Regions from separate parts of the Homo sapiens genome. Here regions 2, 3, 4, 5, 6 and 7 are each linked to region 1. Evidence: promoter capture Hi-C in 16 types of primary human blood cells and fetal thymus (Javierre and others, 2016). All regions are on one chromosome and are shown on one strand. The core of a region is centred on a gene start or on the middle of the fragment in contact, and the rest is flanking DNA. Distances in the headings are between cores, read along the strand shown.

The links. Contacts are between HindIII fragments. The CHiCAGO score rates a contact against its expected background, and 5 or more counts as called.
Region 2: a contact is called between the fragment with the promoter of ING1 here and the fragment with the promoter of ARGLU1 in region 1, in 1 of 17 cell types (monocytes). The highest score is 5.2, in monocytes.
Region 3: a contact is called between a fragment that was not itself captured here and the fragment with the promoter of ARGLU1 in region 1, in 13 of 17 cell types (naive CD8 T cells, total CD4 T cells, non-activated CD4 T cells and 10 more). The highest score is 26.7, in naive CD8 T cells.
Region 4: a contact is called between a fragment that was not itself captured here and the fragment with the promoter of ARGLU1 in region 1, in 10 of 17 cell types (total B cells, naive B cells, naive CD8 T cells and 7 more). The highest score is 26.9, in total B cells.
Region 5: a fragment that was not itself captured here is called in contact with the fragment with the promoter of ARGLU1 in region 1 in 4 of 17 cell types (total CD4 T cells, naive B cells, naive CD8 T cells and 1 more); the score reaches 13.0 in total CD4 T cells.
Region 6: a contact is called between a fragment that was not itself captured here and the fragment with the promoter of ARGLU1 in region 1, in 2 of 17 cell types (total B cells and total CD4 T cells). The highest score is 11.1, in total B cells.
Region 7: a fragment that was not itself captured here is called in contact with the fragment with the promoter of ARGLU1 in region 1 in 6 of 17 cell types (non-activated CD4 T cells, total B cells, total CD4 T cells and 3 more); the score reaches 12.9 in non-activated CD4 T cells.

What each region holds. Positions count from the first base shown.
Region 1 is chr13:106,566,724-106,569,739 of GRCh38, reverse strand. ARGLU1 (arginine and glutamate rich 1) reads left to right here and starts at 1,603. Exons shown (of 4, transcript NM_018011.4): 1 at 1,603-2,167. The coding sequence starts at 1,821. RefSeq lists enhancers at 1,462-1,531, 1,542-1,661, 1,337-2,247 and a silencer at 2,142-2,441. The HindIII fragment of the contact is 1,462 bases long and covers 889-2,350 here.
Region 2 is chr13:110,711,934-110,714,949 of GRCh38, reverse strand. It overlaps ING1 (inhibitor of growth family member 1), which reads right to left and starts at 1,250. Exons shown (of 2, transcript NM_198219.3): 1 at 665-1,250. The coding sequence starts at 800. It also overlaps a transcript of CARS2 not described here. RefSeq lists silencers at 1-23, 64-323, 414-703, 864-1,053, 1,064-1,413 and 2 more and enhancers at 2,084-2,133, 2,734-2,823. The HindIII fragment of the contact is 10,550 bases long and covers 1-3,016 here.
Region 3 is chr13:102,585,760-102,588,775 of GRCh38, reverse strand. No RefSeq gene overlaps it. Among named protein-coding and RNA genes, the nearest start is that of TPP2, 9.7 kb to the left of the region's middle. The HindIII fragment of the contact is 4,556 bases long and covers 1-3,016 here.
Region 4 is chr13:102,619,760-102,622,775 of GRCh38, reverse strand. All of the region lies in intron 5 of TPP2 (tripeptidyl peptidase 2), which reads right to left. Among named protein-coding and RNA genes, the nearest start is that of TPP2, 24 kb to the right of the region's middle. The HindIII fragment of the contact is 6,535 bases long and covers 1-3,016 here.
Region 5 is chr13:102,641,756-102,644,771 of GRCh38, reverse strand. TPP2 (tripeptidyl peptidase 2) reads right to left here. Exons shown (of 30, transcript NM_001330588.2): 17 at 1,396-1,550; 18 at 99-215. Among named protein-coding and RNA genes, the nearest start is that of TPP2, 46 kb to the right of the region's middle. The HindIII fragment of the contact is 167 bases long and covers 1,412-1,578 here.
Region 6 is chr13:102,661,932-102,664,947 of GRCh38, reverse strand. TPP2 (tripeptidyl peptidase 2) reads right to left here. Exons shown (of 30, transcript NM_001330588.2): 26 at 1,204-1,300; 27 at 23-153. Among named protein-coding and RNA genes, the nearest start is that of METTL21C, 32 kb to the left of the region's middle. The HindIII fragment of the contact is 4,346 bases long and covers 1-3,016 here.
Region 7 is chr13:102,791,659-102,794,674 of GRCh38, reverse strand. It overlaps POGLUT2 (protein O-glucosyltransferase 2), which reads left to right. Exons shown (of 10, transcript NM_024089.3): 3 at 869-1,074; 4 at 1,257-1,334. Among named protein-coding and RNA genes, the nearest start is that of POGLUT2, 5.8 kb to the left of the region's middle. The HindIII fragment of the contact is 274 bases long and covers 1,194-1,467 here.

The DNA.
Region 1 (3,016 bases), core at 354-2,853:
TAATTCCAGTTATGAGGTTAGAGCCCTCATGACCTAATCAATATCCCAAAGCCCCACCTTTTAATACTATTGCACTGGTGATTAGGTTTCAACATATGAATCTGAGGGAACACAAACTTTCAGACCCTAGAAGTGCCACTAAAAGAGAGCTCAGAGAGCTAGCTTTCCCCTTCTATCATGTGAGGGCACTGTGAGTAGGTGCCTTCTGTGAGTCATCTGTGAATCTCTGGGTCCTCACCAGCGACCAGATTGGCTAGCACCTGGATCCTGGATTTCCAACTTTCAGAACTGTGAGAAATAAATTTGTTGTTCATAAGCTGCCTAGTTTATGATATTTTGTTACAGCAGTCAACACAGACTAATACACTACTCTTCTTTGTTTCCAAGTTTTCTTGATAATTAATTATGTGATCTTCCATATAAAACTTAAAATTAATTAGTTCTAAAACACATATCCCCAAGAGAATTTGGGACTCTCATGAGAATTGCACTAATTTTGTAATTTGACTTGGGAAGAATTGACAGTATTTTTGATACTGACTACTCACCTAAGAATACAGCATGTTTTACATTTACTAGGGCCTTATTACTGCCTTTTCAGTAAAGGTTTATAATAAAGATTGTGTAACTTGTTAAAGTTTATCCCTAAGTATTTTATGGTTTCTGTTGCCATTGTGGAGGAAATATTATTTCATTTTTAATATGTTTTTGCTTATTCAAATAATTCTAATTTTTCTTCTACTTACTTAAGCTTTATTATTGCACTCAATTTTAAAATTGAGGCACCTAGATTTTCAAGGGTTCCTGTCATCTGCAAATATTAACATTGCCTTTTCCTTTTAGGTCTTAACAATGACACAGTTTGTTGTGCCACATAGGGACGAAGCTTTTCGTGGCTAGGGTTGAGGAGGGCTTGCTGGTTATGTGCAAGGGCTTTGCACAATATGATCTAGGTTCACGTCCCTGCTCTGTCACCTACTGGTTGTGTGACCCTTATTTAACCTCTGTGGACCTCAGGGTCCTCATCTCTGAAACGTGGATAATAGTAGTACTTAATTCAGAATTGTAAGAATTAAGCACTTGTTAATACATTAAAGCATTTAGAAGGCACATTAAGCCCTATAGTAAGCATTAGGTTACATTCATCAAAACCTGCTGCCTACTTACCTCCTGCAAGTCTCATAAGCACTTCAGAAAGTGTGGTGTCTCCATTCTACGAATGAGGAAACTAAGTCCAAGGCAGCAAGTGATGAGTGCAGGGTCACTTGGAGATACATTTTAGGGCTGCCCCACAAGACCAGCTCCTAGAAAATAATGCAATCAATCAACTTCTGCGAGGCCGGACTTAAATCCCACTAAAACGTGCTTAATTCATTCAACAGGCGTTGGCATCTTACCAGGGAGGAAAAAAAAAAAAAGAGTACGCCAAGGCGAAAAGGAGAGTCTCCATCTATTGCGTCTCAGGCTTCCGCCAAGACTGGCGGAAAAAAACGAGTCCGCTCCGAAGCGCTCGCCTGCCTTCGGCAAAAATCGTCAGGAGGCGGGGCCCACGCTTCGGCACGTTTCGCGCAGGGCATTGTGGGAAGGGCGGCCGGTGCAGCCGCAGCTGCCATCTTAGGGGCGCCTGGCGCTACGGGTTTCTCGTTGGAGGCGGCCTTCGTGGCAGCTGTAGACGCCGGGAAAAGGCATAAAGTCCGTTGGCCGACACCTTTCTTTCCTCCGGCCTCGGTAGAACCGCCAGCCCGCGTCCGAAGGCGGAGGCGAGGGGAACTGGCCGCGTGAGGGGCCTGAGGCGAGCGGTTAGAGCGTCTCCCGGAAGGATGGGCCGGTCTCGGAGCCGGAGCTCGTCCCGCTCCAAGCACACCAAGAGCAGCAAGCACAACAAGAAGCGCAGCCGGTCCCGGTCGCGATCCCGGGACAAGGAGCGCGTGCGGAAGCGTTCCAAATCTCGGGAAAGTAAACGGAACCGGCGGCGGGAGTCGCGGTCCCGTTCGCGCTCCACCAACACGGCCGTGTCCCGGCGCGAGCGGGACCGGGAGCGCGCCTCGTCCCCGCCCGACCGCATCGACATCTTCGGGCGCACGGTGAGCAAGCGCAGCAGCCTGGACGAGAAGCAGAAGCGAGAGGAGGAGGAGAAGAAAGCGGAGTTCGAGCGGCAGCGAAAAATGTGAGTGCCCGCGCGGGGAGGGACCGGGGCGTGCGGAGAGCAGGGCGCGGGGCGAGGGCGTGGGGCCGGGGCGGGACGGTGCGGGCCGGGAGAATGGCGGGGACGGTCCGGGGCTGGGGACCGGGCGCGGGAACGGGTCGGAGAGGCGGCGGCGGGGCGGGCAGGCTTGGCGTTTGGAAAGCTTGGGGTGGGACAGACCCAGAAGTTGTTCGGGATGGAAAATTCGAGGGCTTGAGCAGAAAGGGTTTAAGAGAAGGCGATTTTGGCGCGAGAGAGGAGTGGTGTCCCGGAAGTAGGGGTGGAGTTCGGAGTGAGGTCGGAGAGCTGCGTTGGCTTGTGAGGCCGGGAGCGAGCCGGCCTGCAGATGTGGAGGGTGGTGAGCGTTTGCTGGTCGGCTTGAGGAGGAGAGAGAAGGGAATTAACCTTTGAGATGCGAATCACAGCTGGCCAGAAGCATTCTATTGAAGCTCAAATTTGGGACAGGACTTAACTAATCTCGGGAATCATACACTTTAGGTGGTCCGCCAGAAAAATGCATTTTCACTTTAGTGTATTCCTGTTGTTAAGGTGTTGGGATTGCTTTTTTCCCCTTGAGCCTACACCCTCACCCCTTCCTTGAGATGTTAAAAAAAAAAAGCATAGACCTTAAGTGTACAGTGCGATGAGTTTTTTGACCTTTGAATTCACCTGTGTAATCACCATCCCAAAGCCTACCGCTTTTTTAACTTGCTTTCTATTCCTGTAGCAAACACGTGCAGTTTTGTTGTTTCCCTTACACTGTGCTTCTTCAGAAGACACTTGAAGGGTTGATTTTATTTTGGCGTTGCTCCCATGAAGGATATTTAGTGA
Region 2 (3,016 bases), core at 1-2,500, 4.1 Mb before region 1:
AGAGAAAAGCCCTCGTCCTCCGCAAACTACAACCGGCGGCGTCGCCCCTCGCAGTCGGCCCCTACTCGGTGTCCAGCTCCAAGTGAGGGCCGGAGGGGGCTGGGCGGGGGCGGCCGACCTACCCCGAGCGGAGTACTACCCGGTACTTTATGTAACACTCAGATTCGGGACTGAGTGGGGGGCGACGAAGAAGGGCCAGAGGAACGGCGTTGCCCGGGACCGAGGCACCGGGTCCGCGGGAACCCCGGCCCACAGCCGCCCTCCTCCTGCAGCCCCGTCTCGGCGCCCTATAGCCCCAGGCGCCGGCACATCCCTCCATCTCGCGCCGTAATCTGCACCCCCTCCTAGAGGACGCGGCTTGGACCCGCCGCCCCCTCCCCCGCAGCACCCGCCTCATCACTTCACTACAAAGAGCGCTTTGGTCGCGCAGCCTTGCAGCGAGACCTCTCGCGCCTCCTTCCTCCTCCGTGTCCCGGGCTTTGCACACAAGGACCTTGGCGAATCAAAGGCGCTCCAGACCTTTTGTTCCTGCCCCTGCCGAGGGCCGCCGCTGCGGAGCCGGCCGCTTCCTCCGGTCCACGGCAGGACCGGCCCGGCTCCGCGGCGCGCCCGGACCCGCCGGGAAGGAGGCGGCCGCCCCCGCCCATCCATCACCCGGCCGTACCTTGGTATTTCGCGTCGATCTCCCGCATCAGCGAGACATTTCTCTGCAAGTCGAAAGGCAGGGACTCGATGGAGTCCAGGTAGTCCTCCACATAGTTCACCAGGTGGAGCTGCTCCCCGTTGGCAGGACTCAACATGGTTCACCCCGGAGGTCCCCGGCGACTCGGCGCGGCTTTCCGCTTCCTCCACCCCCCGCCCCCCTCAAAAAATAGCACTGCAAAATGCAAAGCCCTCGCTCTCCCGGCGCCCCCCCGCCGGCTCCTGCTTCGGCCCGGCGGCTACATCTGCCGAGCCCGTCCGCCGCCTCCGGGTCCGCGGGGACCCCAGCGCCTGAGGGCGCGGGCCGCGGTGGCGGTGGCTCCCGGGCGCACGCCCCGGCCGGCGGCGCAGGCCCCCTCTCAGGCGGCGGGGCTGGCGCCGGGGGCCGCGCGTACGAGCGCGCACACACCGGCGGGAGAGGGCCCAGCGCCGCGGCCGCCGCTGCCCACTCGCCCACTGGGCTGGGTAGAAGAGAGGAGCGGAGCGGGCAGCGGGAAGGGGCGCGCTCCGCTGGCCGCCGAGCCGCACTTGTCCAACGTGGAAAACCCAAATACCAGTTTCAAACACTTGGGAAACATTCAGCCCCGCTGCGCAGCGCGCATGCGCCCCGGCCCCCTCCCCCGGCAACGGCCCCGCCCCCCGCCGCATTCACGCCCCTCACCGTCCCAGGCCCTGGGGGCTGCGGGCTCCAGGCCGGCCCTCGCGGGGGCGTGGCCTTGCCTGTCACTTTTTCCAGAGGCGAGGGTCGCGGAGGGGACAGCGTCAGGGCCGCTGGGGTGTGGACGGCGGGCGAGGCGCAAACTTTACTAGGAGTTTTTGGCACTTGGAGGCAGAGCCTGTTGGGCGGCACAGCACGCCCGCTGGGAAACGCAGGGGAGCGGCCTGCTTCGCTGAAAACCCGACCAGGACCTAACGGGCCGCGGGACAGAAACCTCCGAGACCATGGTACACAGCAACTACCGCAACTCGCTCCTCAGCCCCTGACTCTTCGTCCCCGCCCCACAGAGCAGTATAAGTAGGGCCCGAAACAGAACTGGCAACCGCAGTAGCCAATCTACTTGCCAACATCACTTTGACAGCCCAATCACGATGAAGAGGAGGCGGGGAGACCGTGAGTAATGCCCCCCGGACTCTTACTACTAGAAACCCAAGTCCTCCGGGAGGCGGAAGGAAGGGGAGGGCCGGGCACGGGCGGAAGTGGCGGCGCATGCGCACTGGCACCCTCTCGGTGTCCTTTGAGCTGCGGCCGCAGAGTGCGCGGGAGACCTACCCATTCCGCGGCCGGACCACCACTCCCAGCAGCCTAGGCGGCTCCCGCGCCTGCGCCATCCGTCACCGCCCTCCCTTTGTGTCGTCTCCCGGTACTCAGTTTGGAACGGCTTGGAGACAAAGGGGCCTGAGAGGGAAGCTGCTTCCTAGTGCCGAGCCCCAGAAGAGGTGGATAGGCCCGAGGGGCGCCTTCCCTAGGCCTTATCTCTTCCCGCCCTGTGTCATGGACACCGTTCTCGGAGGCCGCTCCCCACACTTGGAAAGGCCGCCCACAGTATGCAGACACCCGGTCGGCCGGCGTCCTGAGGCCATTCAGCTCCCCGGACCGCCCTCCCCCGCGTCGCCCCTCTACCCTCCCAAAGCTCCCGGATTTTGGGCTTTCTGAGAAGCCTGGACGCCACGCGAGCCCGTTGCCTAGGCGACCGGCCCCGCGCGCCGGCCCCCCCCCTTCCGGCCAAAGGGCCCGCCCCTCCTGGGCGTGGCCTCGTGCCTTTGTGCACTTCCCGCCTGGCTCTCTGGTTCCGGGGCGGCCTCGGCTTCGGCCTCCGCCCCGCTGCGGCCGCCGCGGGTCCCCTCCGGGGTGGCCCCGAGAGCTGTGTTCGCCACGCTTGGCTGCCTGCTTTTCTCTGATTTTCTTCCGCCTTGGACCCTGCTCTATTTGCATTGTCTTTTTTTCAGCAAGTCGGAGAACGGTGCCTTGTCAGTTTTCACCTTTCTCACTGGACTTTCTCTTTTCCGGAGAGCCGGGTTGGTGGTGCTGCCTGTGTATTCCACGAACTAAGCCCTGTCCCCAGCCCTTGCAGTGTTTCTGTATCAACTCCACGCCAGCGCGGTTCTCCATTTTTCTTAGCCTCTTAATTAGGACAGGGTCGGATTTCAGCTTTTATCCACCGGGTTTATCCTGTTGCAAAGCAGAGTACACAGTTTTAGACACAAAATAATTGCAGTTGAAATGGATACACATTCTGGTGGTAAGATTTGGAAACGTGGTATTTGATGGAACCCTGTTGTAACATCTAAAACTCTTTGGATTTTTTAAAAACGT
Region 3 (3,016 bases), core at 337-2,836, 4.0 Mb after region 1:
ACCTTCAAATACCATCACTTTGGGGGATTAGGTTTCAACACATGAATTTTAAAGGAACACATATGCAGTCCATAGCAGGAACAATAACTTGGACTTTTGGATGGTCCTGATTGCCCCCACAGCCTCACTGATGTCCACTTTGTTTTCACCCTAGTGAAGCATTGGTAATGGAGTATCTATGAGGTGGGGGACTGGCAGGACTTATTTCCTGGTGCCAATGAATGAGGTGAAGAAACCGTAGGAACCAGCAGATGGTGACAACAGTGATCCCTCGCTGCCCTCATTGCTCATTGACATAAAACAGTCCCACCAGTGCCGTGACAGTTCTCAAATGCCATGGCAGCAACCCAAAAGCTACACCTTTTTCCGTGGCAACTACCTGGAAGTTACCTCCCCTTCCCTAAAAAGTTCTAAATAACCCAACCCTCAGTTTGCATTAACCCACCCCTTAATTTGCATGCAATTGTAAGTGGGTATAAGTGAGTATAAACCCAGTTGCGAAGAGCCCATATGCTGCTCACTCTGGGTGCACTGCAAGGAGCAGTGCTGTTCAGTAAAAGGTTGCTAACACGACTGGCTTGCCCTTGAATTGTTTCCTGAGGGAAGCCAAGAATCCTCCCAGTTTTGGTGCTCTCATGTCCTGCATCATCTACAACAGGAAGTGCCCCCCCCCATGGTTAGTAACCTTGTGTGAACTGCTAGACAGACAGTAGGAGGCCTCTACTCATGGATAACCCCCTGGATAGAAGAAACTACCCCAGGTCATCTGAGAGTCCTATCTTCCTAACTGTGTACCACCTAGCACTTGAGTGCTTCAGAAATGGTGGTTGAACTACACTATGTCCTCCCTGGCCAAAGAATTGTGTTCTACCATACCCAGTGATGTCTCACACTGCTTCTAACTCAGAATAGGTTCTCAAATCTTTGTGCATTTGCCCAATTTATTTTAATATCAAATGTTTACACTATTTGGTAATTACTGATTGCATAGTCTCTCTAACTCTATTACTTGGTGTTCTTAGGAGTGAGAAAAAAAGAATAATACAAAAACAGGATAACATTATGTGTTGTAGTATCACAGAGAGAAAGGAATGCCCAAGAAACATTGCAGCTTGAAGAGTGTAAAATTCTCTAGACTTAAATTGTGTATCCTTCCAGAAATGTCGTATGCATACAAAGAATATGATGCATATATTTCCTCTTTCCTTTTTTACACAAATTGTAGTATACTATACTCACTGTCCTGCACTTTATTTTTTTCTTTGTTTTTTGCTTCACAATATTTCCTGATGAATATTCGTACGTAGAATTTTATTCTTTCTTGTTAATTAGGCGTACTATTAATTTGTTTGGATATATCAGTTTATTTAACTCCATGTGTTTGTTTTTAAATCTCTTGAGAAGCTGGAAATGGGTCCTTTCTTGCAAGTACAGTTGTTTCCAAAACATAAGCCTTTTGGGTAATAAAGGTCATCATTTACTTTAGTTCTGACAAAGTCAGATGTCTGTATATGGCTTATATAAGTTCCACTCCCATCCTTAGAGGCATTCAACCCACAGTCCCTGCTAAGTGGGCCGGAAGAATGTAACCCACTTACCTTCTGGCCACAGACGATAGACCAGGAGTAGAGTCCTGACCCGAGGCAGAGAAGAAGCAAATGGGTATGTAGTGTGTGATGGGGGCTTACAGTGAGCTTCTGATCCAATCAGCTTCTGCTTTTGGGTTGACAGGTGATTCCTTTGTATCCTTAAATTTGACACTTTTATTTGACATCATATGGAATTTTCCCTTACTTAAAGCAGCTTCTGCTAGAACAGGGCATATAGTACTTACTTTGTTTCACCTCAATTCCTGATGTATATTAATCAGCAAAAACATTCTCTCACTGAATTCCATGACAATAAATCACCATGAGGATGGCAGACATGTATTAAATCAGACAAGCCATTGTCCAAGGTGTAGTTCCTGCCCTGTGGTGCTTCACTGGATAGGCTCATGCCTGGACCTGCCTAACTGGGGCTGTTGTCAATTGTGGCACCTGCGTGGGACTTCATAAAACCTGTCCATCTGCCCACATTTGGAATGTCAGAAAAACTTGCCAGGTTTAAGATTCCAGTTAAAGGCGAATCTCAATGATGATACCGAACATCCTGAAGTGAACAAGAGAAGCCAACAATATGGTAGCAAAAGCATCTGGGCAGCAGATAAAGGGTTTTGTCTTCTAGGTCTAGGTCTGCCACTAATTAGCTACCTGACCTTTAGCAAGGCCTCTGCTTCCTCTATCATCAATTTGGAAGTTATATGAGTATAAATGAGGCCGGGCTTGGTGGCTCATACCTGTAATCCCAGCACTTTGGGAGGCTGAGGCAGGTGGATCACTTGAGGCCAGGGGTTCAAGACCAGCCTGGCCAATATGGTGAAACCCGTCTCTACTAAAAATACAAAAATGGATGTGGTGGTGCACACGTGTAATCCCAGCTACTCGGGAAATTGAGGCATGAGAATTGCTTGGGTCCGAGAGGCGGAGGTTGCAGTGGGCAGAGATCATGCCACTGCACTCCAGCCTGGGCGACAGAGCAAGATTCTCTCTCTCTCTCTCAAAAAAAAAAAAAGTTACATGAGAAAAAATAGCTTCCACAGTGCTAATAACTATTTGCTATTTGCTATTAGTAAAATGTGACTGTATGTAGTAGAGACTCAATAAACAAAACCAAAACTGGTCAGATTTACACCACCTCAAGTTAAGACTTACTAAAGTACACAATTTTTTTAAAAGAGGACTTCTTAGTTTGCAAGAAATGTTTTTAAAAATCAGCTTAGCCATACAGTAAAGGGACCTTGTTTTCTTGAGGTAAATCATCAAAATTTACTTTATAATTTGTCAAATATTTTATGGACAGATACATTTATACTGTTTCTAGAATCTAATTTTTTAAACAACAGACATGTCTGATCTTGAGGCACTATTCTTTCTTCTTTTATAAAGTAATGACAAATAGAAAATTGGTTATAAAA
Region 4 (3,016 bases), core at 387-2,886, 3.9 Mb after region 1:
ACCACAACAAATATAAATATAATGACTGCCTGGTTTAGCCTGTTTCTTAGAGTGGGCAGTAAGGATTAGGTAAGATAGCTTACAGCAACCAGTTCTTAAATCATGCACAAAGTGCTTTAAAAATACCCTCCTTCACAAAACTCTAGGTTAAAAACCACCTGGACTCTTAAGAATTACAGCTAAAACTTGGCTTAGAGTTTTAGAGCAGTTTAGGATAGTTCAGACACATGGCCTAGGTCTAACTTCCAGCTGCTTCTTTTAGTAATGGCTTCAAGAATCTAACGGCTTACACAAGCTCTTTGAAACTAGGTGAATTTTACTGAGCTTCAGTCCTATAGTTATAACAGACTTAAATTTATTTCTCACAGAAGGCATTTTCTACATTACTTTATGGTTGTCTTCCTTCATGTTTTTTCCATTTTACTAACTAAAATAGTTTTTAAATTATATTCCGAACACTTTAGAAGATAGCCTGATTAAAACAAAATACACTTAATATTCAAAAAGTCATAAATGAAATGAACATCATTAAAAGTTCAATATTATGTTTTTAGCTCTAAGTATGTTTTAAATGCAAGAACTGTATTTTAACAAGCTATGCAAGTCAGTCAAAATTGCCAAGTAAATTAATAGAAGCCTACTGGTAGAGCACAGAGAGATGATTTATCATAAATACTGAAGCATATTTCATTAACAAATTACAACACTTTGGAAAAAAGGATTCTTAAAAATTTGTTTTTATGCATTGCCCTAATATGACTGATGTAATTTCAAATAATAGAATATACGAAGGTATAGGAAACTAAACACTTATGGAGAAAATGAAGCAAAGAGCAAACAAGTCACATATTAAACAGAATCAGGCTTGAGATTAGTGGGTAAAATGCATGTCACCAAATCTTCCACATGCTACAGAAGTAGCACTTGTCTCCAAAATTTATGCAATCGGCCAGCATCCATCCTGGAAGTCATCTACAAAGTCCTCCCTCTGTTCTTCCCCCAGCCCATCTAACCGCACAGTCCCATCTCCATAATGTGTCCGCCTATTTCCACTGTCTCTTCCTTACCGCTGTTGCCTGATGAGCTGATGGCCTGCTCTGCCCCTACATTTGACTCCTGCTGAAAACCTTCCATGTCTTCCAACGGCTCTTAACATTGAAACTCCAGAGCAATGCCCCTAATAATCATCTGCTCACCTCCCTCACCTCCTGCTCCCATCATATCCTCTGTGGCCACACCAAACTTCTCACAGTTCCTCCAACATCCTCTGGATCTTTCCCCCACCCTTTCTACCTCTCTGCTTAGTTTACTGTGATGATCCTTCAAGTCTCAATGTAAGATGTTATTAATACTTTTGGGAAATCTTTCTCGATTCTTCCTAGACTGGTTCAGACGTTCCCAACACTTGCTTCCATGGAATCTAGAGTCCATGGAGTAGCTTCTATGGTGTCAACCTGGTACAAAGAAGGTACTCAATAAACATCTGCCACATGATTAAGGAATTAACGAAATCATCATCCTTAACAACATTCTCACAGCAAATACAGTGACACATTCCACAGGTCAGTTTCTTATAACCACCATCATTGGAATGACTCAACAATACAACCAACACATCAAAACATAAATTATTACTGACTTCTCTAAATAACACGACAGAGGACAAGTATGAATGTGGTGCAAGGTTATAACTTTCTGAAGGTCTAGTTGACTGAATTCAAGTAGCAGCTAGAATACAGAGAAAGGATATCAAAATGAGGCTCATACACAGAGCAGGGTACATGTAAGTGGGGAGGATGAGAGAAAAGGCTTTTGTTTTATGTATTTCTCGACATTTTCACACATCTCTCAATTTTCTGTGGAAAGAATCTAGAGCTTTCATCAAGAATCTAAAAGGAAACATGACATAAGCAAGGTCAAAATCCACTGTAAAGAAATCAACTAATAGCTTCTCCTTTATGTAATCCTCTGTAAACACTGTTTCTCTCAACCAGTTTTTGTTCCATTTGGAGTGACAATGAGTCTGAGGCTCTGCGTCCTGACAGATGCTCAGAACAGAGTCATCTGAGGCCACCCGTTAAGTGCAGAGATACGCGCTAAACAATTAGCAGAAATGTGGCAGGGAGAGCACAGACTGGACATTCGTCATCAAACAAAACAAAACAAAAAACCCACGGTACTTAAAGAATAGGTCACTTTACCTCCCTTCAGAAATGGTTGGCATTTTTGAAATGTGAAATGAGAACATCTGCAGACAGGACTGGATTAACCTTATGTACCCTGGGATCTACAAGGTTCTCTTCAAAAAATTTTGGATCTCTGAGATCAAAGCCCTATAGGATATACTGTATTATGCAAAAAAGTTACATTATATCTAGTACCACCTGAAAGTATAATTATGCTATATTCATTTATTATAATAAAATGTTCTAAAATGTTATTCTGAGATTTCAGATTTTATTTCACTTAATGTTAGATTAAATTTCATTTCTAACTCAAAAGTTCTAAACAAAACCCTTAGAATAGTTGTCAACAAACTGCTACAAGTGAGTCACTTTATCAAGCACCTTGAAGACCAAGGAAATCTTGTGGAAACACACACTGGTACCCTGGACATCCTGACTCCGGATTCCTTTTCCTAAGACAAAGTAATCTGCAGTGTTTTCAGAACCTAGAGCAAACACTTTAAATGAAACCACCTATTGCCTCACTACTCAATCCCTGCTAATATTTTAGTATTTCTTTAAGTTCTTTTGTAGTATATACTTTCCTAAATATACTCTGTTTCGTATTTAGCATTTTCCTTGAATTTAACCTTGCCTCCTTTCCCACACTAAAACGCACCTAAGGCTTATCACTGAGTGTGACTGTATCATGTTACCCCAGATGGTGGATGTATCAAGGTTTATTATTCTGTATAAAGCCTCTGGAAAATAATTTTTCAAAACGTGTATGCATATGCACACAACAAAACAACATGTATGAATACACACAAAAGTGCATTAATATTTAATAT
Region 5 (3,016 bases), core at 246-2,745, 3.9 Mb after region 1:
AATTTCCCCTCATTAAAGTTTAAATCTAACCAATGAAGTTACTCTCCAGTAACACAAGTAACTGACATTAAAAATCATGAAAATGTTGTGGAACTTACAATGTTTAACTGAGGAGCAGTACACACTATCCCATGGAAAGAAATGGTATAATCAATGTTGACATCACTGAGACTTGCCCACCAACGAGCAATGCAAAATTCAATTGCTTTTCCACCCTGCAAATAAAAGTAAATAAAATATATCTCTTTTCTTATTTTTCTCAAATTACAGAATATAAATACTAGCTGTTTCAGAGCAATTCTGTTTTCAAACTTTTCCTGTTTGTAGCAAGAAAACTCAAAAATTTTAACAGCTATGCTAAGTAAGAGTTAGACAAATCATTTGCAGAGATATGGTGTATTTAAATATACATAGTTATTTACTCATAACCCTATGCTTCTTGTCATAAAAGATCCTAGGCAGCTTCTGAAAGCACATATAATAAAGCAAATGTGATTTTATTATTTCGAAGTGAAATAAAAAATTAGGACCAAAAGAAAAATAATCAAGTATAACGACACAATAAAGATACTTCAACTTTGTAAGGCATACTCAATAGGCACAATTGAGTTTGGGCTCACAGCTACCTGGCAACCAAAACAAAATGACATTATGGTCATTTACATCTTTCTCCCTATTAAAAAATAAAGATAAGGAAAAGGAAAAAAAAACACCTGCTCTTAGCACTGAGTTTTAAAGTAAGTTTTCTAGTAATCAGTGATTTAAAAGTTTAAAAAGATGAAGCAACACTGATCCATGGAAGAACACAAATGAAAGTAACCAGAAACCAAGAGATACTGGGAAAATCCCAGAACCAACTGAAAACACAAAGGAGCGCATTGAAGGAAGAACATCAGTACTTTCACCTTCTATGGAAGAAAGACTAGTCATCATTTCCAACACCACAGATAAGAATGCAGTCTGCCATCATCTGAGATAACTTAGACATGAAGCAGTAGCAGTTTTCCTATAATGCAAATTAGCCTCATAGCTTAACAACACAGCATTAGTAAAATAAGTTAAGTGACAAGCAAACAGGTCTTAAAGAAATTAATCTATAGTACAACAAAGAATAATCTAAATCAGGGTCCTAACTACAAGGCACGAGAATCTACCAGACTAGTATGTTTCTTTGACTATGCTATTCAAGAATTACAGCCATAATTACCTCCAACTTGATTTCAAGTACCCTGATTAGATTTTCTATTTTTCTACTTCATTTTTTTGGCATTAAAAAAATATATAATCCCAACATGCTAAATACAAACTATAAAATCAAATGCAAATACTTAGTCTTAGCCCATACCAAAAAGGCAAATAAATTGTGTTAGGATTATAAACTATAATTAAACTTACTAGGACAGGAAAAGCTTCAGTCAGTGTTCCTTTCTCTGGAAGAGAACAAAACTTATAGAATTCATGGCTTCGATATGCTCTTTGCTTCACAAGCTGGACTGCATGTAGAACAAACTTTGCTGACACCTCAGAAGAACACGAACACACTGTCACTTCTAAAATAAGAAAGAAAGAAGCAAAGCTTTAAACTTATAAGACCTAAAATTGACATAAAGTGGCTTTAATAATGCCCACTTAGGGATAATTCCCATGTAGGGACATAATAGGGATCAAAAATAAAATGTACACTCAAATCTGCATATTTCCATAAAAACAAAGAATCAACAAAATATTAATAAAGGTAGAAGACTAGAAGATTTTCTATGGGAACGAAAGAAACTGGTATTAAAATGAACCACCACCATGAGGCTGCAAACACCTGGAAACAGCAAGCTGTCCATAGATGCATACACAATTACATTAATCGGGTACCTTTTAAAATCCCTCCTTGTTTTAGCTGAAAACCAGTCAATTCCAGATAAAGTAAGGAAGGTTATATTTTTGGAAACCTCTATTTGTTATCATGCCTCAATTCCTCATTGATAACTTTTCCTAATCTCTCTTCTTGGTCTACTTGTGTACTGTGTGCGTCTACAAAGCCTGGCACGACTACTTATGCTTAACTTTACTCTGAGCCAGCGCTGGAGGTAAGCCAAGATCACCGCAATGCCAGATTGGCAGCTTTTCTAAAGAACACCCAAGCTAATTCAAGGGAACTGAAGCAAGGCGCAATGCCGTGGCTCATAAAACCAGGTGTGCAGAGAGCTCTCAGAACCTAGTCAGTTGCTAAGAATACAAAATCTAGTGTTATGACAATATTTCTAATTATTTGAAATAAAACTAAGACTGTTAAATTCTCTTAACTACTTGCATTCTAGATCATTTGATAATTTTTATTTAAAAAAACAAATTATTTTCAATACCAACCTAAACCAATCATAAATCAGTGCCATTTATCACTAAACAAGTACCCAATTCAGTATTAATTAACCATAGATTTGTATTCTTTAATTTACCAGTGCACATTTTACCAGAGCCTGGAGCTCTACAAGTCCCAGGGGCCCTATGAGAATGGGACCCCAGGAATGCTGAACACAGCAACTCTGACTCCACCCTCTAGAAGTACTGTCAAGTGTGAGCGTAATCCCAACGAAGACAAGCTATGTACCAAGTACTATAAAATCCCTAATCCTTACAACAGACTAACGACTATATTTACAGTTGAAACAGAAGTCCAGAAAATTTAGAAACCTGCCCCCAGGTAACCATTAGCGTATGGCAGAGTGTGGATCCAAACCCAGACTTCTCAATTTCCAAAGCCCGTGGCCTTGCCGCTACTCTGTGCTGCCTCCCTCTAATCCAGTTCTCTTAACTGCAATATCTTGGACTAGATGCTCTCAAGGCCTCTGGAAGCAGGGTCCTTGTCTAAGTAGCTCACCACCTTAGCCCACTGAAAAGGGCCTGGCACAGATGGTACAGAAAAATATGCTTAATGAATGAGTGTAGTACAACCCGATTATCCTCAGAAGCCTCTCACTGCTGCAATAGCTCCATTATAAACCAGTGTGCAAATTAACAGGCT
Region 6 (3,016 bases), core at 382-2,881, 3.9 Mb after region 1:
AGATTATTTACTGGTTAGGTACTTTTTTATAGTAGCTGCATCAGGCCTGGGATCAGTCTTCATTGCAATATAAACTGCTAGGGCTGTTTGATCTATATGAGAAATAACAGCATTTGCCGCATCAACAATTTCATTAAGTCTTTTCATTCGTTCCTGGAGAGGAAAAAAGAAATAATAAAAAATAGGTATATCAATCAGTATACGAAAGCAATTTCACTTCTGCTGTCTCAACCATGAGACCTACAACTGCAGTGTGAGTAAACTATGTAATTGACTTGTAGCCCAGGGGCTCCCTGCTATCTCCTACTGTGATTTTTCTAATTGCTGGTATCTCTATAAAACTTGAGCTCAGATGCATAATAAAAATACCTTATTTACATTCCCTGCTGGAGTACAATGGTGAGAGTAAGCAAAATATAAACTTCATAAAAATGTAAAGTTTTTTTTTTAACAAAGGTAACTCCTTTTCTGTATTTCTTAAGATTCTAGAAATGTGATTGGCTATTGTCATTACTCTAGTTGCACACTACCTGAACACAGGAAAAAAAAAGAAAGCCCTAGCTGATGAAACCATTTCTTTCTGATCCATCATGAAAAACACAAAGATGAGAGTAAACATTATAATCAACAGTCTAACTGTGATTACCATGATGTTCCCAACAATTTGCTTCTCTCTTGTTAAAGTCTTTTAAGAAATCTCCTTTAAATACCCTCTGGTTCACTCTAAACCCTTGATGATTTTCAACTGATTAGGACAGCACTTTCCCACTGCTTTGATGAATAATGAGAACTGGTCCATGTCATGACAGACTAGAACTATGGCCAACTCTCACAAATGAGAATCATTAACAAAGTTAATGCAAAGTAGGAATTCTTTCAGTGAAGGCGTTCAGATTTCCATCTGGCCAGGATTACTACGTTCTGCCCCTTGCCCTTTAGGTTAAGGTCATGAAAACAATCGTTAAGGTATCTTCTCTATTACTAATCTCATTGACCAAGCATGAGCAAGAATCCTAAACTAAACTCACAGTAGTGGCTAGGTCTTATAATAACCTTCATGAAAACAGCTTAACACAACATTCAATTTGAGAAAACATGTTTTAGTTAGCAAGAACAGAAGAGAAAGATAATGCACTTTTCCTCAAAACACAAACTTATATAATTACAAACAAAATAAGATATATCAGAATGAACATGTCTAACCTTTTCAGCATCCAATTGATGAAGTCGTGCAACGTACAGAGGAAGATAATTAGGATATGTTTCTTTCAATTCGTTATAAATGTCACTAGAATCCAGCCTATGTATGTAAGAAGGAGAGAAATATTTACTTTTTTCTTTTAAAAAGACTATTTGTCTTCTCTATTATTTAACATTGTTTGGAAGTTTAAGCCAATAAAATAAGACATTAATTTGAAATACAAGTATAGTCATTGACAAGGATTATCATTATTGGCAAGTAGTATAAATGGTTAACTAGAAAACAAAAATAAATCAAACTGGGCTGGGCATGGTGGCTCACCCCTGTAATCCCAGCACTTTGGGAGGCCAAGGCAGGCGGATCACAAGGGCAAGAGATCAAGACCATCCTGGCCAACATGGTGAAACCCCGTCTCTACTAAAACTACAAAAATTAGCTGGGGGTGGTGGCACATGCCTGTAGTCCCAGATACTCGGGAGGCTGAGGCAGGAGAATCACTTGAACCTGGGAGGCAGAGGTTGCAGTGAGCCGAGATCAAACCACTGCACTCCAGCCGGGTGACAGAGTGAGACTCCATCTCAAAAAATAAATAAATTAATTAATTAATTAAAAAAAATAAATAAATAAATCAAACTGAAAATTATTCCAATTAAGAGTTCAATAAGATATCCAAATAAAAATATGCATCAATAGCTTTCTTACATACCAGCTATTATATTTATTTAAAAGGAAGAAAAGCATATTCACAAATAGCTAGAAAGATTAAAAGATTTAAAAATGTCTCAGATCTATTAAACTTTTCTGAAAATTCTAGAAAAAATAAAAATTTAAACTTTTCTGAAAATTCCAGTCTTGAGTCAATAAAGAGTTATTCTATGTTCCCCGACGCGGAGGCTGAATAAAATTCCCAATTCTACCTGATTATATGTATCAGGATAAAAACAAATTAACATACAAACTAGCACCAGAAGTGGGTAACTTACATTAAAGTCACTTAATATATTAACAAAACTGCACAGTAGTATAAAAATAAGGTTGACCGGGATTTTGATACTATAACTAACTTTCTATGAAAATAAATTTAACTTGTAGACAACAAAATTTACACTAATTCTTAGTACAAAAAAAATTAAGTCCTGTTTTTCTCTTTTCGCTAACAATTATCCAAGGGCAAAATCAACACTTTCGTTTTACATTTTAAAACTACTGCACCTTAATTATAAATTTTTTTTTCCAAAAAATGTTCTAAGGTTTTTAAAGTTTTGCTAGGGAATGCTAATAATTTTTTGCTGTTTTCTTCTAAAACACCTATTAGGTAAACAACCTTTTCAATTTTTTCTCCATACAATTTTCCCATTTTAAGTGTGAATTTCAATGCTTTCTAGCATAGTAACAGATATATGTAACTATCACAACAGTCAACTTTAAAACATTTTTCATCAATACAAAAAGAAACCGCCATACCCTTTTGCTATCAGATCTCCCCAGCCTCCCCAGCACTAAGCAACCACTAATCTACTTTCTATCTCTATAGATTTCCTCATTCTGGACATTTAATATGAATAGAATCATATAATACATGGTCTTTTTGTGACTGGCTACTACCACTTAACATACTATTTTCAAGGTGCATTCATGTTGGAGCATGTATTAATCCCATTCATGGCTGAAAAGGAATCCCCTGTATGGATACACCACATTTTGTTTGTCCATTCATCAGCTGATGGACATTCCACCTTTTGGCCATTATGAATAATGCTGCTATAAACTGTCATCAACATGTTTTTGTGTGAATATAGGTTTTTATTTTTCTTG
Region 7 (3,016 bases), core at 81-2,580, 3.8 Mb after region 1:
TTATTTTTTGAAACAAGAGTCTCACTCTGTCCCCCAAGCTGGAGCACAGTGGCACAATCTCCGCTCACTGCAACCTTCACCTCCCAGATTCAAGCTATTGTCATGCCTCAGCCTCCTGAGTAGCTGAGATTTCAGGCACACACCACCATACCCAGCTAAACTTTTTTGTATTTTTAGTAGAGATGGGGTTTCAACATGTTGGCCAGGCTGGTCTCAAACTCCTGACCTCAAGTTATCCACCCACCTCAGCCTCCCAAAGTGCTGGTATTACAGACGTGAGCCACTGCACCCAGCCTCTATTTCCTTTCTTTTGAACTCATGCAAAGTAGACCTTATTATTATGAAAATATCACAAAACTTCACTGTGAAGAGCTGTCAGAGTAGAAGGCTGACTTACTTGCAATGCCCCAGTATAGTAAAAATGTATTACTTTTTTTTTCTTTGAAACGGGCTCTCACTGTCTTGCCCAGGATGGAGTGGCGCAAACATGGCTCACTGCAGCTTCAACCTCCTGGGCTCAAGTGATCCTCCCACGTCAGCCTCCCAAGTAGCTGAAACCACAGGTGCATGCCAACGCACCCAGCTAATTTTTTATTTTTTGTAGAGACATGGTCTCCCTGTGTTGCCCAGGCTGCTCCCGAACTCCTGGGCTCAGGCTGTCTTCCTGCCTCAGCCTCCCAAAGTGCTGGGATTACCGACATGAGCCAACCTTGCTGGCCTGTAATTCTCTTAAAATGTGTTTTCAATGAAAATGCTCTTCCTATGTAACTAAGCAAAATTCATGAAGCCACATTATAGATGTTTATTACAAGTTTCGAATGCTGAGTGAAATGATCACTGTTGTACTTTGTTATTCTTATGTAAATAGGGCCGGTTTACCATGAGAACTGTGACTGTCCTCTGCAAGATAGTGCAGCCTGGCTACGGGAGATGAACTGCCCTGAAACCATTGCTCAGATTCAGAGAGATCTGGCACATTTCCCTGCTGTGGATCCAGAAAAGATTGCAGTAGAAATCCCAAAAAGATTTGGACAGAGGCAGAGCCTATGTCACTACACCTTAAAGGATAACAAGGTACAACACATGATTTTTTGCTTGTTTGTTTTAGTGATTTTTTTTCTTGTTTTGAACATTTGGCTACAATTAGCTAAATCATTTTATAAACATCATTCGAATGAGCACTGTGACAAGCTTTTCCTCAGTGAAGTCTGCCAGCGTCTTTAGACTAACATAATAAATGGTAAATTCTCTTTTAGGTTTATATCAAGACTCATGGTGAACATGTAGGTTTTAGAATTTTCATGGATGCCATACTACTTTCTTTGACTAGAAAGGTAAGTATATATTTTCTCTTAGCTGTAATAGATAATTTAAGCCCAGATTTTACAGGATAATTTTTCAAAATACAAATTATACACTATCAGGGTATTCTCTTCTGGAGCCTTATGATAATACTATTCTGAAGCTTTCTGTTATTTCAGGTACCTGCGTTTGTTTCCTAGGGCTGCCGTAACAAAGTGCTACAAACTGGAAGCCTTAAAATAACAGAAATGTATTCTCTGGCAGTTATGGAGGCCAGATGTCCAAAATCAAAGTGTCAGCTAGGTGCCATGGCTCACGCCTGTAATCCTAGCACTTTAGGAGGTCAAAGCGGGTGGATCACTTGAGCCCAGGAGCTTGAGACCAGGCTGGGCAACATGGTGAAGACCTGTCTCTACAAAAAATACAAAAATTAGCCTGTAGTAGTTTCAGCTAATGGGGAGCTGAGGCAGGAAGATCGCTTGAACCTAGGAGGTCGAGGCTGCATGAGCCGAGATCACGCCACTGCACTCCCAAGGCCTGGGTGACAAGAGTGAGATCCTGTCCCCCCCCAAAAAAAATTAAAGTGTCAGGAGGCCAGCTCCCTCTGAGATGATCCTTTCCTTTCCTTTCCTGCCTCTTCCTGGCTGCTGTCAGTGGCCCTCCATCTTTGGTGTTCCTTGGTTTGCAGCTGCATCCTCCCATCTCTGCCTCTGTCATCACGTGGGCTTCTCCCCTCATGTCTCTGGGTCTCTTCTTATAAGGACACAGCATAGTGGATTAATGGCCCAGCCTACTCCAGTATGACCTCATGCTAACTAATATCTGCAACAACCCTATTTCCAAATAAGGTCATTCTGAGACACTGGGATTTAAGACTTCAGCATATCTTTTGCAGGGACACAATATTTTATAGAGGAAAGAAAAATGCCTTATCATAAAATTATTTTGGTACTAAACTAACTCTGAGTCCAAAGATGACTTGCCTTGTACTGAATCCCATTCCTTGGGATAATGGGCTTTTGTTGGGTTCTAGTGGAATGGTTTGAAAGTAATGTTAAAATGGTGGATGTGAAAGACTCTACCAACATTTTTACCAAATGTATATTTATTTGTAATCTATTATATTTATTTGTTGAATAATTTGCATGTATATCTTGATTAAACTACTCATGGAAAATCATAATGCCTTTTTTTCAAGATTTCAAAGCACTTACAGTCTGTTAATTCTGAATGTAGGTAGTTATATAGCATCAATATTAAGCCTCCTTTAAACTAAGACATCAGAGTACCGTCATACTTCTCTTGCTCCTCTTTGTCAATCCATGGGAAAATGAGAATGTTCTTCAGGACTTCGGTTTCTCAAGATGCTTCTCAGACTGGTCAGTGCTTTTCTGGCCTTAAAAATGTATATCTGTTGTTTTGTAAATACTCTAAACATTTTCTGTGACTAGATAAAACATATCCTCTTTACATATTCATGCCATTTGCCAGTAGAGGAAGGAAGCATAGCTTGAAACTTACTACGTTGCTGTTGGTGTTGGGCTTCCTGAGTTCAAATCCTGGTCCCACCACCTACCTGGTGTATGTTTTTTAAAATGGAACCATCTGGCTCACTAGCAGGAAACTAGGGTTAGAGTCCCAAGTGCTATTTTTTAAATTATTTTCCAATAATTCTCCTTCTCTTTGATCATCTTAGAGGCTGTTCGCAGTATTA